3 separate regions of the Homo sapiens genome follow, and all the other regions are linked to region 1. Evidence: promoter capture Hi-C in 16 types of primary human blood cells and fetal thymus (Javierre and others, 2016). All regions are on one chromosome and are shown on one strand. Each heading gives the region's core, a stretch centred on a gene start or on the middle of the fragment in contact. The rest is flanking DNA. Distances are from core to core; before and after follow the strand shown.

Region 1 (4,896 bases), core at 1,147-3,646:
AACTCTGCAGGCAACCCAGGCAGCTCTGAAGTGCCTTTGGCAGCAATGGGTGCTTAATAAAACAAGAAGCATGGCTTAGATCAGGGGTTCCCACCCTAAAGTCCAAAGAAGGCCCTTGGACCCCCAACATTATATGCAAATTTGGGATGTACGTACATTTTTCTAAAGATAGAAAGTTAAGAAGCAATGGATTAGTTTAATCTCTAAGGCCTCTTGCAGTTCTATCAATATAAAACATACAAGAGCCAACAGGCCCATCACCTCCCAAACTCCTTCAGAAATCACTTGGCCTCTTAAAGCTGCTGAGCCCTAGGCTGTGCACTCCACAAGGACAAACTCAATGTGGTGTTGTGTTTAGACATGACCTATTAGCATGGTGCTACTTCCAGAAGGCTGGCGTTACAAGGTGGATGTTAGAGAAAATTAGTACCTAGAAAATTAGTAACTAGACTGTTAACTTTTCTGCACTCCTCACCAAACAAAGCACAGCATTTCACATGCTGTGGATGCTCAAACAGCCAAGGAATAGGAATAAGGGTACCCCTGCTTTCCAAACCCTCTGCAGGAGATGAGCACACTTGACTTTGGGGGGCCACCAAACTCCATTCTCAAGCTGTGGGAGCCTGAGTCTTAAGACAGAGGGCCACAGCATTCTCAACAATTTGGAATGGCTATAAAAGGGGCCAAGAAAATGGCTGGCCTTGAAGTTGGGAAGATTGAGGACTGGAGTGAAGCCTGTTCTCTAAAGATAAGAAGGGCCTCTGGTGGACTTCTCTGAATGCAGGGTGAACAAATTGACTTCTTGAGCCTCCCTCCAGCCCAAGGATTCTGTAATTGAAGGGAATGGATGACTCATTCTCAGAGTTACAGGCGTTTAGCCAAGCATCTCCTCACATGCATCTAGGACTTAACATCCCAGGTCTGCTGCCCACTCTTTAGATGGCTCTGCACAATTCATTTAACTTCTCTGCGCCTCGGTTATCTCACCTGCAAACTCAGCAACTGGATGAGACAATGCCAATATCCCTTCCATCTCTAAGCGTCTTTAATATTATTATTAAGCCATTAAGATCAAATAAGAGAAAGGGGAAAAAAAAAGCATTCTGCTTCTGGACTCAGCTTCTGTTGAGTCTCCAAGATATATACACAGGAGCTCTGCTTTAGAGAAGGAAATGATAAAAGGAGGACAAGTAGCATCCCCAGGCCACCTCCGTTCCCAGGCCCGCACCCATCAGAACTCAGCTGCAACTGTGAGGCCCCCATGTGAGTGCCAAGCCCCTTGAAAAACAAGGGAAGAGGTTTTGCCCGTGAATGATGTGTTGCTAAAAAGTGAAGACGTAAGACATCCCCACCAACATAAGGCGCTCCAGAGACCAGGAGCTCTTCCATTGTGCCTCCTGGGCCTCGGTTTCATCATCCATAAGATGGGGAGACTGGGAATGGCTTTACACTTGAATACTTCAGGTTGACCACCACAGCCAAGGGCCAAGTAGAGTGGACAGGTATTGGGTAGGATGGGAAGGGGGACCAGCAAAAATTGTGGGGTAAGATTTTGACGCCTGCACAAACACAGATCTCTTCAGAGCCCTCAACTGAAGGCTTCCCATTGGTCCCCTGTCTGGGATGGAGCACCAGGAGTGACCGGAGGGACTAGGCGCTGGGCTCCGGGGTGGGCTGCCAGGACCCTGGGCCGGCTCACCTGATGAAGGTGGTCTTCCCAGTGGAGTACTGGCCCACCAGCAGAACCATGGGCTTGTTGTCGAAGTCGGCATCCTCCAGGGCGGGCGAGTGGAACTCGTGGAAGCGGTAATGCTCTTCCAAGGGCAGCAGCTTGCTCTTGTAGAGTTTCTTGAGCCCCTCACTCACCGTCTGGAAAACCTCGGGGTCCTTCCTCCGGCGGTCGTCCGTACCCAGCCAGCTGAACATCGCGGCCGCCGCTCGCCCCCGGCACGCAGCCCCAGGGGAAGACTCCTCCTCAGGGGAAGATGTCCCGTAGGACCGGTCCGCCGGGCTCCGAGCCGCGCCGCCGCCTCACCCAAGCGCGGGGCTCAGCCGCACCATGGCCCGGGCACGCGGCTAGGAGGGCCGGGAGCGCACTCTCCCTGCTCCTGGGACCAAGCCCAGCCGCTGCTGCATCCAGCAGCCCAGGCCGGAGGGAGGATAAATAATCTGGGCTTGAGGAGGAGGGGTGAAATCTTGGCAATTAAAGTTGAACCTGCAAGGAAACTGCCAGATGCCGGGGTCCCAAGCCGGGGTCCCCGATCGGCCCCCAGCCCTCGCCTGCTCTGCCCTGCGTGCAGCAAGGGATGCTTCGGCTCCGCTCCTGCCGGACCGAGGCGGCTCAGGGGAGACGGCGACGCTGCCCAGCCCGCGGACAGCTCTGCATCCGCAGCAGCATCCTGCAGCCCCAGGCGGTGGTTTAAATGCCAGCTGGGCAGGAAGCCGGCGCGCAGAGGAAGTCCCCTAGTACTGGCAAGGCAGGGCCGGCCCCACGGTTGCGGCGACGGGAAGCCGCGCAGGGCGCCGCCATGTTTGTGGGCAGGCGCTCAGCTCTAGACCTGCGGCCGCGCGGGGAGAGGGATGCTGACCCAGTCCAGTGGGAGAGTGCCGGTGTCTCAGTCTCCGCCTCTGGGGCTTCGATTTGGGAACAGCGCCCTCTCAGGGACGGCTGCGAGGACAGAGTTGACCTATTCATCACACTCCCTGCTTTGAATCGCCTCTCCTTCAGTTGCTGAGGTCAATTCCCTAGGAAAACAGGTACTCTAGTATTGGGGGATTTTTTTTTTTTTTGGCATAGAAAGGGGATCCACTATCAGGTTACACAAAATAACCAAAACTGTCACTACCCAAACTTTTAGCTAGGCTTAGGGTGAAGTCAAAATCGTTCCCATTTACTTATTCATTCATTCCAGCAAAACAAAACAAGCCAAGAAGCAAAATCCCTGCAAGTATTGGGAATTTATTATGGGGCAGTTACAATTTTGGTGACTGTGGATACAGAGATGAGTGCTGAACAGACTCTCCCTTCCAGGAACTCCAGTGAAGGCAGGCTTTAAAGAGGAGGCATGAGCAGAGGGTCATGGGAATACAGGGAGGAGTCACTCCTTTTGTGTGGCTAATTTGAGGAAGGCTTCATGGAAAGCATGACTGTAAGCTGGATCCTAAATGATGAATTGACATCCATTGTTCTAGGAGCGTAAGGAGTATTTGCAAAGGCTTGAGGAACTTGGTGTGTCCAAGGCAGAGTAAACAGTTTGGCATAGCTGGAGTGTAGGGTTTAGGAAGGTGAAAGAGAGTGAGGGAGGCCAAGCATGAAAGGCTTTGCCAGAGATGGGGAACCAATAGCAATGCTATTACTAATCATTGTTACATTAACAAAATGCTCAGCATGTGCAGGGGCCTGGGCTAAGTTCTCAGTGAACATTGCTTTATTTAACCTTCATGGCAGATCATATTATCTCCAGCATCATACTAAGGAGAGTGAGTGGGAACACTGTCCAGGTGTAGGCAAAAGCAGTGCATCGTGTGTAGAGAATTTAAACCCAATAATAAACTTGCTGAAAGTTGATGTGCTTTGTATTGGCACCATTCTAAACAGTGTAGTGATAAAACACTCCTCCCTGCCCAGGCTAATGACTCCCACTACCCTCCCTTCCACAGATGAAGAAGGAGTAGGCTATGGACCAGGCAGGAACTGGAATGCCAAGAGCAGTGTTGGAGGGGCAAAAGAGGTTGGGGGTTGATATGGTTTTGCTTTGTGTCCCCGCATAAATCTCATCTCTAATTGTAATCCCCATAATCCCCATGCGTTTAGGGAGAGAGCTGGTGGGAGGAGATTGGATCATAGGGACAGTTTCATTCATGCTGTTCTCATGATAGTGAGTGAGTTCTCGTGAGAGCTGATGGTTTTATAAGGGGCTCTTCCCACTTGGTTCCTCATACTTCTCTCTCCTGCCGCCTTATGAAGGACGTGTTTGCTTCCCTTTATGCCATGACTGTAAGTTTCCTGAGGCCTCTCTAGGCATGCAGAACTGTGAGTTAATTAAACCTTTTTCCTTTATAAATTACCCAGTCTTAGGTATTTCTTCACAGCAGTGTGAAAACAGACGAATACAGAGGCCAAGAGACCATTTAGGAAACTATTCCAAAACTTAGGAGACAGCTGCAATGGGATTGGAGAAGAGGTCAGACTCAAAAGATTTTTTTCATGGAATAGAATTGTCAGATCTTGGTATGTGATAAAAAAAAGAGGACATAAGGGTGAGGCACAGTCTAGGATGATTTTGAATTTTCTACCATAGGGGATAAGATCATTGGAGAAGCTCTTCCACTAATTAGGGGAGGCAGAGAGAGAGCTGATTTAGCAGACAGAGATAATGTGTTCAATCTAAAACGTGTTGCGTTTGAAGTGCCTGCAGGAGCTTCAAGAGGAGTGTGGTGAAGCTGCAGGGATTTCAGGGGAGGGGGGATTATCAGAGGCCAGTGCTGAATAGAATCTCCTTAGTTACATCTCAGATCTCCCGACTCCCTCCTTGAACCCCAAAACTGATCATCTCTTGTTGAGAATTCACTCAGATTAATATTTCACCCTTGGTGTTTAGCTACTACCAACATACGAACCTAAGGAGTAATATTAAAGATATTTAACAACTCACAAGGCATGAGAATCAAACACCCGGAACAGACACTGGCCTTCCTAGTGGAGCAAGGCTTGCGGCCCCGTGCCACGCCTGGTGTTAATACAGTGGCGTCTGGACCTTGGAGAGATCTGAGCCTGTCCCCGGAGAGAGGTCAGTATGGCCAGCGTGACAGGAAAGAAATCAAGGGGCCCCATTATGGAAGTATTTCAAGAATTTTGTAATCAGTACGGCCATGCCATTGTCTACTGCTGAATGT
Region 2 (4,896 bases), core at 1,149-3,648, 790 kb after region 1:
CTGTAATCCCAGCTACTCAGGAGGCTGAGGCAGGAGAATCGCTTGAACCCGGGAGGCAGAGGCTGTGGTGAGCCGAGATCGTGCCATTGCACTCCAGCCCTGGCAACAAGAGCGAACCTCCCTCTCAAAAAAAAAAAAAAAAGAAATTAGTCATAACTCTGTTTCAAAATAACTTTTTAATTAATGGGCAACACAAGTAAGAAGAATATACCACTTAACCAAAGTAAATGTAATTGTTACCACACAAATCACTATTGGACGCCAATGGAATAAACCATGATTATTATTTACACAAGATCACAAACAAAACTACTGGCTTGAAATATGTGTTCATTCTAGGACATTGCTAGAGCCTTTGAAAAAGAAAAATATATATATTAAAAATGAAAAATTTGTACATGAATTAATGTTTCCCCTTAATACATAACACATCTGTATGTCATAGGAAGATAGTAGGCATGGTGGTAGTAAGACAGTAAGAACACAGGCTGGAAACACAATGCTAATTGTGTGATATGGACAAATTACTTAAACTTCAATGTGCTTCAGTTTCCTCATCTGCAAAATAAAGATAATAAATGTATCCGCCTCACAGTGATGCTAGATGACTGAGTTGGCACATATAAGTCCCCGGATTCAGTGCCTGGCAGAGTACATGAATGCAGAGGAATAAATTTCAAATATTTTCACTGTTTTTTTAACTTTTTAAAGCCCTTTCACACATACTGTCTTTTCTTTTTCCTCCCAACAGTGCAATGAGATTGTTTGAATAAGAAATACTCACTTTAGAGATAAGACACCAATAGTGAAGTTGTATGATTACCCTAAGATATTTTTAAGTGGCAGAGTTTGGACTAGAATCCACCCATAACCTCAACCCCAGGACAAACTGACCAAATCTCCATGGATCCAGTTTGGAAGAATCTTTTGGGTTTTCCCCATTGCTTCCTCCTGGTTGTCAGCAACAGCCAGCCTAAAGACCTGGTGGGGGCAGATGCAGACGACCATGTGTTCAAATTAAAAAGTAGGAGAAGCCTAGCTTTCACAGAAACTGACACATAGTTGGCACTCCAGAGATTGCAGCTATTGATGACTGAAACACAAGCGCTATTACGTTTTTCTCAGTTACAGAACAAGGTACTACTCCATAAAATCAAGCCTACTACCAAAAACAAAAGTCAGTTAACATTATGCTTATCTGTCATATCAAGCATATCAAAGTACAATGTGCAACAGAAACCTAAACGAAAAAGTGATGATGTATTTTTACTTACTCTCAAAAAATATGTTTTACAAAAAGGGCTTTCATCAAGTCAGTTTTTTGAAAACTAACCCACGTAGTTATACTTCATGAGATGACGTTTCTTTGAACAAATAAGTTAATGATATGAATAAATATTTCATCTTGGTAATGCCTTCAACACATATCTTCAATACTTTTCTTGGACTTAAAGTGACTTCAATCCCTAATCTCATCTACTGCCATGTACACAAGAAACACAGTTAATGAACTTTAAAGGCAGATGCAGTATTTCCAGGGAAGCCACCTGAACCAGGGAAGTACAAGAAAGCAAAACATCTCCACAACCACATCTAAGTGCCTTATCTTTCAACTTCTTTTCTTCAAATGGGCAATTAGAAGCTACGATACACCTTAAAGATCAGGTTTGGCATCCGCCCTGGCTAGGGCCTACCTTTCTTTTCGCGGCACTGCCACTCTGGCACCTACAGGCAGGCCTTTGGCGCCTGCAGGACTCGCAGGGAAGACAACCCCAGCCCCTGCTCTCCACGGCTCTCGTCGAAGCCCCGCACGTGGTGACCACTTGAGACGTTTTAGTGCATGGGATTTAACAGGGTCAGACCTCAGGTTGCGTTCCGGGACAGTGCAGCTCCCAGACCCGCTGAGGTCGCAGGAGGAAGGTTTTGACGCTCCTAGCGTAAACACCGACGGGACCCTCTTCGCCCCGCGGCTACCTCGCCCTCGCCGCTCGCGCGGCCCCTCAGCACCTGACGCCTCAGCCAGCCTCCAGGAGTCGCTTCCCCGCGCCTCCTTCCACCTGAGCCAGCGACGCTACCGCCACCTGCACCGGGACCCCAAATGCCAGGCCAGTGGCCGTTACCCGAGGTCGCGGCCCGGGGAAGGTCCATGGCTCAGGAGGAAAAGCCCGGGCTGCAGCTCCCCTTCCTGCACCTCTGAGATCCCCCGGCCGCCGCCATTTTCCTCGCGCCGTAACCCCACCTGATAGTTCCAGCCTCCCACCTGTGACAAGCAGGGCACGCCGCGCGACGCCGAGTGGGGTGCGTGGGCAAGCTGGGGCTCCGTAGGGGTCACAACCTCCGTGCGGAACCCGCCGTTAATTCATCCCGTAACGCGGAGGCGTCCGGCCGTCGCCCTAGTAATGCGTCCCGGAAGGCTACGTCCTGATTGGCTGCAGGCGCCGTGACGCAACGGCGTCCCCGGCTGCGTGGGAAACCCGGGTCCCCGGCGCCCCGCGCTTGCTCCACAGCCCGGGATACCCCGGGTACCTTTCTTTGAGAGCTCCTTTAAAGAGGCCTCGCTTATTTCCTCGTCTGGCCTCCTGGAGAGGAGGGACCCACGGAACGGTGGGGTGTAGGGGTGAGAAAACAACGAAATAGGAAATTAGCGGAGGTCATTTGTCCGAGGGAACCTAATGGTTCATTCAACCCCTAGAGCTGCAAAATGGAAAACAGAAATCTGGGAGTTTAATTTACAAGCCTAAATTTGGTGCGCGAAGTCACAGGACAAATCAGTAGTAGAAGCAGTTATAGAACCCAGGTTCCCTGATCAGGAGCACAAAGTTTTTCTAGCACACTCAGTGTTTCCCCAGTCCTAGAAAATGTTTCCTCCCAGTTCCCATAGCAATTTCATCACACTGCTCTTAAAAGGTCTCGATCACCTATCATGGTGTGTCTGTCCTGTCCCCTAACCTACTAGATTGCATGCCCCTGAATGGTGGGGACTGTGGTTAAACCCCTTTTCATTTCCCTTAAGCAATTCCCTCCTCAACTTGGCCTTCAACAAATACAATAAGAATCTTAAAAATAATAAACATAGCTACACATCACACACAGCCACTCATCAGTAGTTCATGTATGTCTATACGTTTTATCCGTTTATTCAACAAAGCACAGAGTGAATATTTTTAAAATTACAAGGTTCCTGACCTCACAAAATTTATGGTGTAATAATAATGACCATCTACATGTTGGCTGCATAGCTTCAATATAGCTAAATTATATCCCCAAATTGCCTGTAAATCAAAGATTCTTGTGCTCTTTTCCTAAATTAGCTTCATAATTTCTCTAAGTTTGTTCCAAAACATTTTAATATTTAAGATGTGCTAAAATTGCATCAGAAAGTGAAGAATGACTACAGAGAGAAACACCAGAACAAAAGTCAATTCTGCCAATTATGCCTATGACTTTAGGCCTCCTTTTTACCTTTAAAATAAGATTACTGGAATAAAAGATCTCCCAATTCTTTTTTGTTGTTGTTAAGAGTTGGCCTGGCTATGCTCCAGAACCTTCAAGGGCTCTACTGTGGTTCTTTGGGGGCTTGCCGGAGGTTCCTCATAGCCTTTGCAGCTCCATTGCAGAGAGCTCTAGCATTGTGAGGTGTGTCCGGTGATACAGCCCAAGAGGCAAGGTTGCCCTTACCGCCCTAACCACAGAGGACAGTGCTGGGCTCTTTCTTTTTTCTTTTCTTTGCTTTTTTTTTTTTTTTTTTTTTTTTTGAGACAGGGTCTCGCTCTGTCACCTAGGCTGGAGTGCAGTGGCATGATTGTGGCCCACTACAACCCCTGCCTCCTGGACTCAAGCAATCCTCCCACCTCAGCCTCCAGACTAACTGGAACTACAGGCATCTGCCACCATGCCCAGCTAATTTTGTGTTTTTTGTAGAGACAGGATTTCAACATGTTGCCAGGCTGGTCTCGAACTCCTGAGCTCAAGCTATCCACCCACCTTGGCCTCTCAAAGTGCTGGGATTAGAGGCTTGAGCCACCGCGCCTGGCCCTGAGCCCGTTCTTGATCTGAGCTACTGATCAGTAGCCACCTTCCACGTCAACTGCTAAAGGGATAGGAACAGAATTCCCAAGGGCAAAATATGCTGATTTCTAAACTCAGAGATCTGCTAAGTGTCATGCTTCTTTCTTTTTGGCAGAGGTGCAAGGTGTAGTAACATGTTTTTCATTCTGGGGAAAATGTCTTGACGTGCCCAAGATCATTGGACCACTTCAGCATCCAAAATGATGTATAGTTTACATAATGCTATTGTACCAGGATCATTCTTTGTTTTGATACATGTTCTATGCTTACACAAGATGTTGACATAAGGGGAAGCTAGGTAAAGAATATATGGAAAAATCCCTGTACTCTCTTTACATCTCTCCTAAGTCTAAAACTACCCCCCCAGTTTTTTAAATAATTATTTTAAAATATCACCAATGTAGCAAGCTCCTGAATTTTTGTGGGGTTTATCCGCGTCTGAAATGTATGTATTTCATCAAGACATCCAGAGAAGTAGTCCCCGACCTTTTTGGCACCAGGGACTGCTTTCGTGGAAGACAGTTTTTCCATGAACGGGGTGAAGGGTGAAGGGGGTGATTTCGGGATGATTCAACCACATTACATTTATTGTGCACTTTATTTCTATTATTATTACATTGTAGTATATAACACTTAAAAAGTGGTGTTAATCTGTGCTCTACTGTCCCAAAGGGACAAGTTTCTCAATCTTTCCTGACCCCAGTAACAGAGCATCACAGCTGATGAATTGCTGAACCTCATGAGCCATTGACTTAATGGTCACATTTAATAGGGCACTCTCTGTAATGCTCAGGGACACACTATGACATACAGGAAATCTCAAGTCCT
Region 3 (4,896 bases), core at 944-3,443, 530 kb after region 1:
AGGAGCTGCCGAGGCTTTGATGGGTGGAGGAGGGGCGTCATGCTAACAAGCTCTCTTGGCCCCAGCGCCCCATGGGAAGGTCAATATTGTACCTGATTTTCCAAATGAAAATCAAATACGGCACACGGATCTGCTTTATGGGTGATAAAGTTGCAATGGCTCTAACAGAGGTGAAATTGATTCATATTTGTCAGGCCGGGAGATGAGAGAACTAGGCTCCAGGACCCCTTGGCCTCTTGCCTGGCAGCCCCTGTAGACATATTTTTGGACAGGAGGTATTTCAGAGTGAGAGCATGCCACAGGTAACTTCACTTAGCTCAGAATGGGAGCCACCAGCTTTTGAGCACCTGTCATGTACAGGAATTAGGCTCCATTGTCTCCAGCCCTTAAACTCCCTTACAAGGATTAATACCAGAATGCTCAGATGAGGAAATGGAGGGTCTTGCCCCAGGCCATGAAGACACAAGGAGCAGAGTGCGGGTTGGTTGTACTCCAAAGCCATGCTCTTTCCATTGGCCCACACAGCTCTGGGAGAGGAAGACAGCTCCTGGCCCAGGCGTGCCTGCTCAAGGGAGAGCCGGCCAGTCCCGAGAGGGGCTAAGCATCTGCTGTCCTGGGCTGGGAAGGGCTGCTTCAGCACTGCCTGCCAGGAGGGCCTAGGAGTCTAGAGATGAGAGTGAGAGAGATTGACAGGAAACCTGGATGGTGCCTTTGTAAGGTACAGTGATCCATCTCAATAATAATTGTGTCACCTCGTCAATATCAAAATATCTCATCAGCTTTCATGAGTCACTGTAGGAATGGCCAGCTGTAAACTCACATCTAGAAAAGGGGAAAACTCAGAAATGTCTCAAGTGCCAGCCTGTTCAGTCCTATAAACTCTTCCATGCCATGCTGTCCATCCAGTGCAATAAGCAGAAAACTCGGTGAGCATGGGCTGACTCCAGGCCAAAACGAGCTCATATGCGTCTGTGACTCCACGAGGCTATGAGCACCTCAAAAGCAGCAGCTCTGCCTTGCCCAGGTTGATCTCCAGGGGCCAGCTTGCGCCTGTTGCCTCGCGAGCCCTCAGTAGGAAGCTGTGTGGCCTGTCCAAAAATATGCCTAAAGGAGCTGCCAGGCAAGAGGCCAGGAGGTCCTGGAGCCTAGTTCTCCCGTTTCCCAGCCTGACAAATATGAATCAATTTTACCTCTGTTGGAGCCACTGGAACTTCATCACCCATTAAGCAGACCCATGTGCCCTATTTGATTTTCATTTGGGAAACCAGGTACAATATTGACATTTCCATGGGGTCCTGGGGCCGAGAGAGCTTGTTAGCATGAAGCCTTTCCTCCACCCATCAAGGCTCCATCCCTGCCACCTACCTCCCAGCTGTTCAACCCTGACCCTAACCTCGGGGCCTAGCTGCTCTCCTCTGTCAAGTGGGCATTTTAAAATACTACCACTTGTCCAAACCCACAGATTGTACGTCACCAAGAGTGAAGAAAAACCTTCGGACTGTGAGTGATCATGCTGTATAGACATAGACTCACTGATTTTATCACATGTGCCACTCTGGTGTGGGATGCTGGCCACGGGGAGGCTGTGCATATGTGGGGGCAGAGGGTATACAGGAACTCTCTGTACTTTCTGCTCAGCCTTGCTGTGAACCTAAAACCGTTTTGAAAAAATCAAGTGTATCTAAAAGGCAGGGAGTTGGGAATACTGCCTCTTGAGGTTGCTGTGAGAATTGAATAAGATAATGTCAATGCACCCAGCGCGGTCTTTGGTGCACAGTGTGGTCCATGGTAGCTGAATGAGGGGCTATCACCCTCCTGAAACCCAGGAGGAGGCTGAGGGCAGTGACAGATGCTCACTTCTAGCACATCTCATCTCCTCCGGGGTGGGGATAGGTGAAAGAACTGAGGACCAGATGATCTTGCTAGTACTCAGGAGATAGGGCAGCAAAGATGACTCAAGAAAGAATAACAGGCCCAGGCCTAGGATCAGCCCCTCCCTCCCTCTCTAGCAGACAGATCTTCTCAGAGCCGACAGATCTTCTCAGAGCCAACAGAAGAAATGGGAGAGGACTTGGCTATTTGGCAAAAGCACAAATCTGGCTGGGCTATGCCCCGGCTCTCAAGTCCTCATCTGCTCCACAATGATCTCACCAGGCACACTGGCCTCTCCTCCCACTGGGTGGACCCTGCAGCCATTATGGGTGCCATTCAGCCGAGCAGGAAGAGAACAGGCTGGTGTCTGCAGACCTGCATTTCAGGCCCCATTCTGTGGCTGTGTGACTTTGAGAACATCTCTCCCTTCTCTGTGCCTCTGTTTCCCCAGGCCAGCTTTTCTCTCTTCCTTCACTGAATATGTCACTGAGTGCTATCCTTGAGCCAGATAATCCCTGAGGGTCCTTTCAATGTGATATGATTTTTTTTGTTTTTGTTTTTGTTTTTGTTTTTTGAGACGGTGTCTCACTCTGTCGCCCAGGCTGGAGTGCACTAGCATGATCTCGGCTCATTGCAAGCTCCGCCTCCCGAGTTCACGCCATTCTCCTGCCTCAGCCTCCTGAGTAACTGGGATTACAGGCGCCCGCTACCATGCCCAGCTAATTTTTTGTATTTTTAGTAGAGATGCGGTTTCACCGTGTTAGCCACGATGGTCTCGATCTCCTGACCTTGTGATCCGCCCGCCTCAGCCTCCCAAAGTGCTGGGATTACAGGCGTGAGCCACCGTGCATGGCTAAAATAATATATTTTAAATGCATTGGAGAAATATAAAACATGCAGACACGAAATATACAGATAAAAATGGAAATGTTTTCTTAATCATGGGAGATGGCACTTTTCCTCCTGAGTTCTGCCTGCGAATCTACATTTCTATAGACTTTGTGAACATGAATGTTTGCTTGGAAAGTGCCTGGATAGCTTTGAAGTCTGCAAGGCTGTGATCTTGCCCTCAGGATCTGGCTGATACTGGTCAATCACCTGCCTCCTTGCAAAAGGAGGGTAGCATGAAGCCGGGACAAACATGGATACTTCCTGGACCACAGCTCTTGAGTTCCCTTGAACTTCCCTCCACAGCCACACCTGTTCTCCCTGCCAGACCCGTCCCCTGGCCCAGAGCCTGTTGAGGAACCAGATCTCTGGGGGAGGCACAGGATGTGGAGGGACATGTATGAGTTTTGGCTTCAAACAGATATAATTTCAATCTTAGCTCTGCCATTGACTTGCTGTGTGACCTTGGGAAGTAACTTACCGTCTCTGAACCTTGTTGCCCTGTATCTATTTAGCAGAGAGAATAAATCTCTCTCTGACAGGGTCGTTGTAAGTATTATATAGAATGACACAGGTCATGTCTCTGGCCACATAAATAGCTGAGCCACTTTATTTAACAAGATAGTTGGAATCTCGTCCTTGGATGAGATAAACCGTATAAAGCGTTAGGTCGTGCCTAGGTAAGAACTTGCCTCTATTGGCTACTATCATCATCATCATGTTGCTCATTTTCATCACCATCTCTATCATTGTATTCCCTTCCCTGTGACCTCCAGGTGGCAGCATGGGGCCATGGAGCCACAGCCCTCCTCCTCAGGCTGTCACTTCAAAACTGTGAGCGGGCAGGACCCTTGGGTGACACTCCTTGGGTGACACTAACCTGAGCTGTCACCATGATAGCCAAGTGAGGAGCACTTAAACACCTTATTTTCATCCTTAGGACCTTCTGCAGGAAACAGTTATCCACATCGTATATGGATGAAAGGTGGGCTCGGGTGGGAGGAGCCACTAGTGGGAGTGGAGCCAGGAATCAAAGCCAGTCTCCACTACCTGCCGGCTGGGGCACCTGCCCACTGCGCTGGAGCCTCCGAGTGGGTTCCAGCATCTCACCTGGCAGGTAGGAAAGTGAGGCCAAGGGGCGAGGGGACTAGCCCCAGGATCGGGCTCCTAGGAAGGGCTCCTTCCCACAGAGCCCAGTCTCCGGGAGTGGCTCGTCAGCCACGGCCCCAGCACTGACTTGAGCCTCAGCCTGGGCTCCCTGGAGGGTCTTGGCAACCTCAGGGAAGCATCCCATGACTTGTCTCTTTCTGCCTTGCCCAGTGGGACCTCTTCTGATCCCCAAGTAATCTTTGCTACCAGGAACCAAAGTGATTTGTGGAAACTTCCTCCAAATCCCCAGCTAATCCTCTTCTTTTAGTGAGGTCCTTTAGCAATCACATTTGCTGCTTGGTGACCTCTAATCCCCTTATTCTCAAAGGTCCCTGGGGAGGCACATGTGCAGATGTGTGTCCCTGCTGGGGCCTCTTGAGCTGGTCCAGGCCAGAGCAGCATGTCTGTGACCACCAGCTTGTCCCACTCAACTTTGATCTGCTTTCCTCCCTCCTAGGGGTCTCACTTTAAAGTTGGCCAGGGAGAGGCCTTAGGTCTGTGCCCAGTGGTCTCTGGATAGGGCTTGCTGGCCATCAGCTGAGAAGCCCCAGTCCCCTGGCGTCTCCATGCTGATTGACTCTCAGAGGGATCCTCATATTTGAAGTTAGGGCCTCAGTTTCCTCCTCTCTTAAACAGGGATAACATTAGTCGTACCTCGAAGGCATGCAATGAGGAGTTACCAAGGTAATATATCCAATGAGGTTAAAGAAATCAGAATCAGTTAGCTATGTTACCTAGAGTATCTACCTGCCACCCCCACCCCTCAAGGACTCCGATCTCACCCGCCTCTAAAGGGGTCACCCCAGGGTACGCAGTTGCTCACAAAGGCTGAGAGATGTGATGGGGGGCAGTTCTTCAGCAAGCCGAGCCCACTGTGGGCTTTGCAGGTTCTGGGGACTCCCTGTCCCTCAACAATTCTGACTGGGAAGGGGTCCAAGAACCTGGAGCTGTAAGAAGGTGCGCTGAACAGAGGAGAGATTCGAGATA

What was found. The method cuts DNA at HindIII sites, captures the fragments that hold promoters and counts their contacts. A CHiCAGO score of 5 or more calls a contact.
Region 2: a contact is called between the fragment with the promoter of LCLAT1 here and the fragment with the promoter of EHD3 in region 1, in 6 of 17 cell types (monocytes, fetal thymus, erythroblasts and 3 more). The highest score is 6.7, in monocytes.
Region 3: a fragment that was not itself captured here is called in contact with the fragment with the promoter of EHD3 in region 1 in 1 of 17 cell types (monocytes); the score reaches 5.0 in monocytes.

What each region holds. Positions count from the first base shown.
Region 1 is chr2:31,231,652-31,236,547 of GRCh38, reverse strand. It overlaps EHD3 (EH domain containing 3), which reads right to left and starts at 2,396. Exons shown (of 6, transcript NM_014600.3): 1 at 1,700-2,396. The coding sequence starts at 1,926. It also overlaps a transcript of CAPN14 not described here. The HindIII fragment of the contact is 24,555 bases long and covers 1-4,896 here.
Region 2 is chr2:30,444,748-30,449,643 of GRCh38, reverse strand. It overlaps LCLAT1 (lysocardiolipin acyltransferase 1), which reads right to left and starts at 2,398. Exons shown (of 6, transcript NM_001002257.3): 1 at 2,261-2,398. RefSeq lists enhancers at 1,234-1,970, 2,168-2,287, 2,498-2,557, 2,598-2,667, 1,971-2,708. The HindIII fragment of the contact is 6,952 bases long and covers 1-4,896 here.
Region 3 is chr2:30,705,836-30,710,731 of GRCh38, reverse strand. No RefSeq gene overlaps it. Among named protein-coding and RNA genes, the nearest start is that of CAPN13, 99 kb to the left of the region's middle. The HindIII fragment of the contact is 8,206 bases long and covers 1-4,896 here.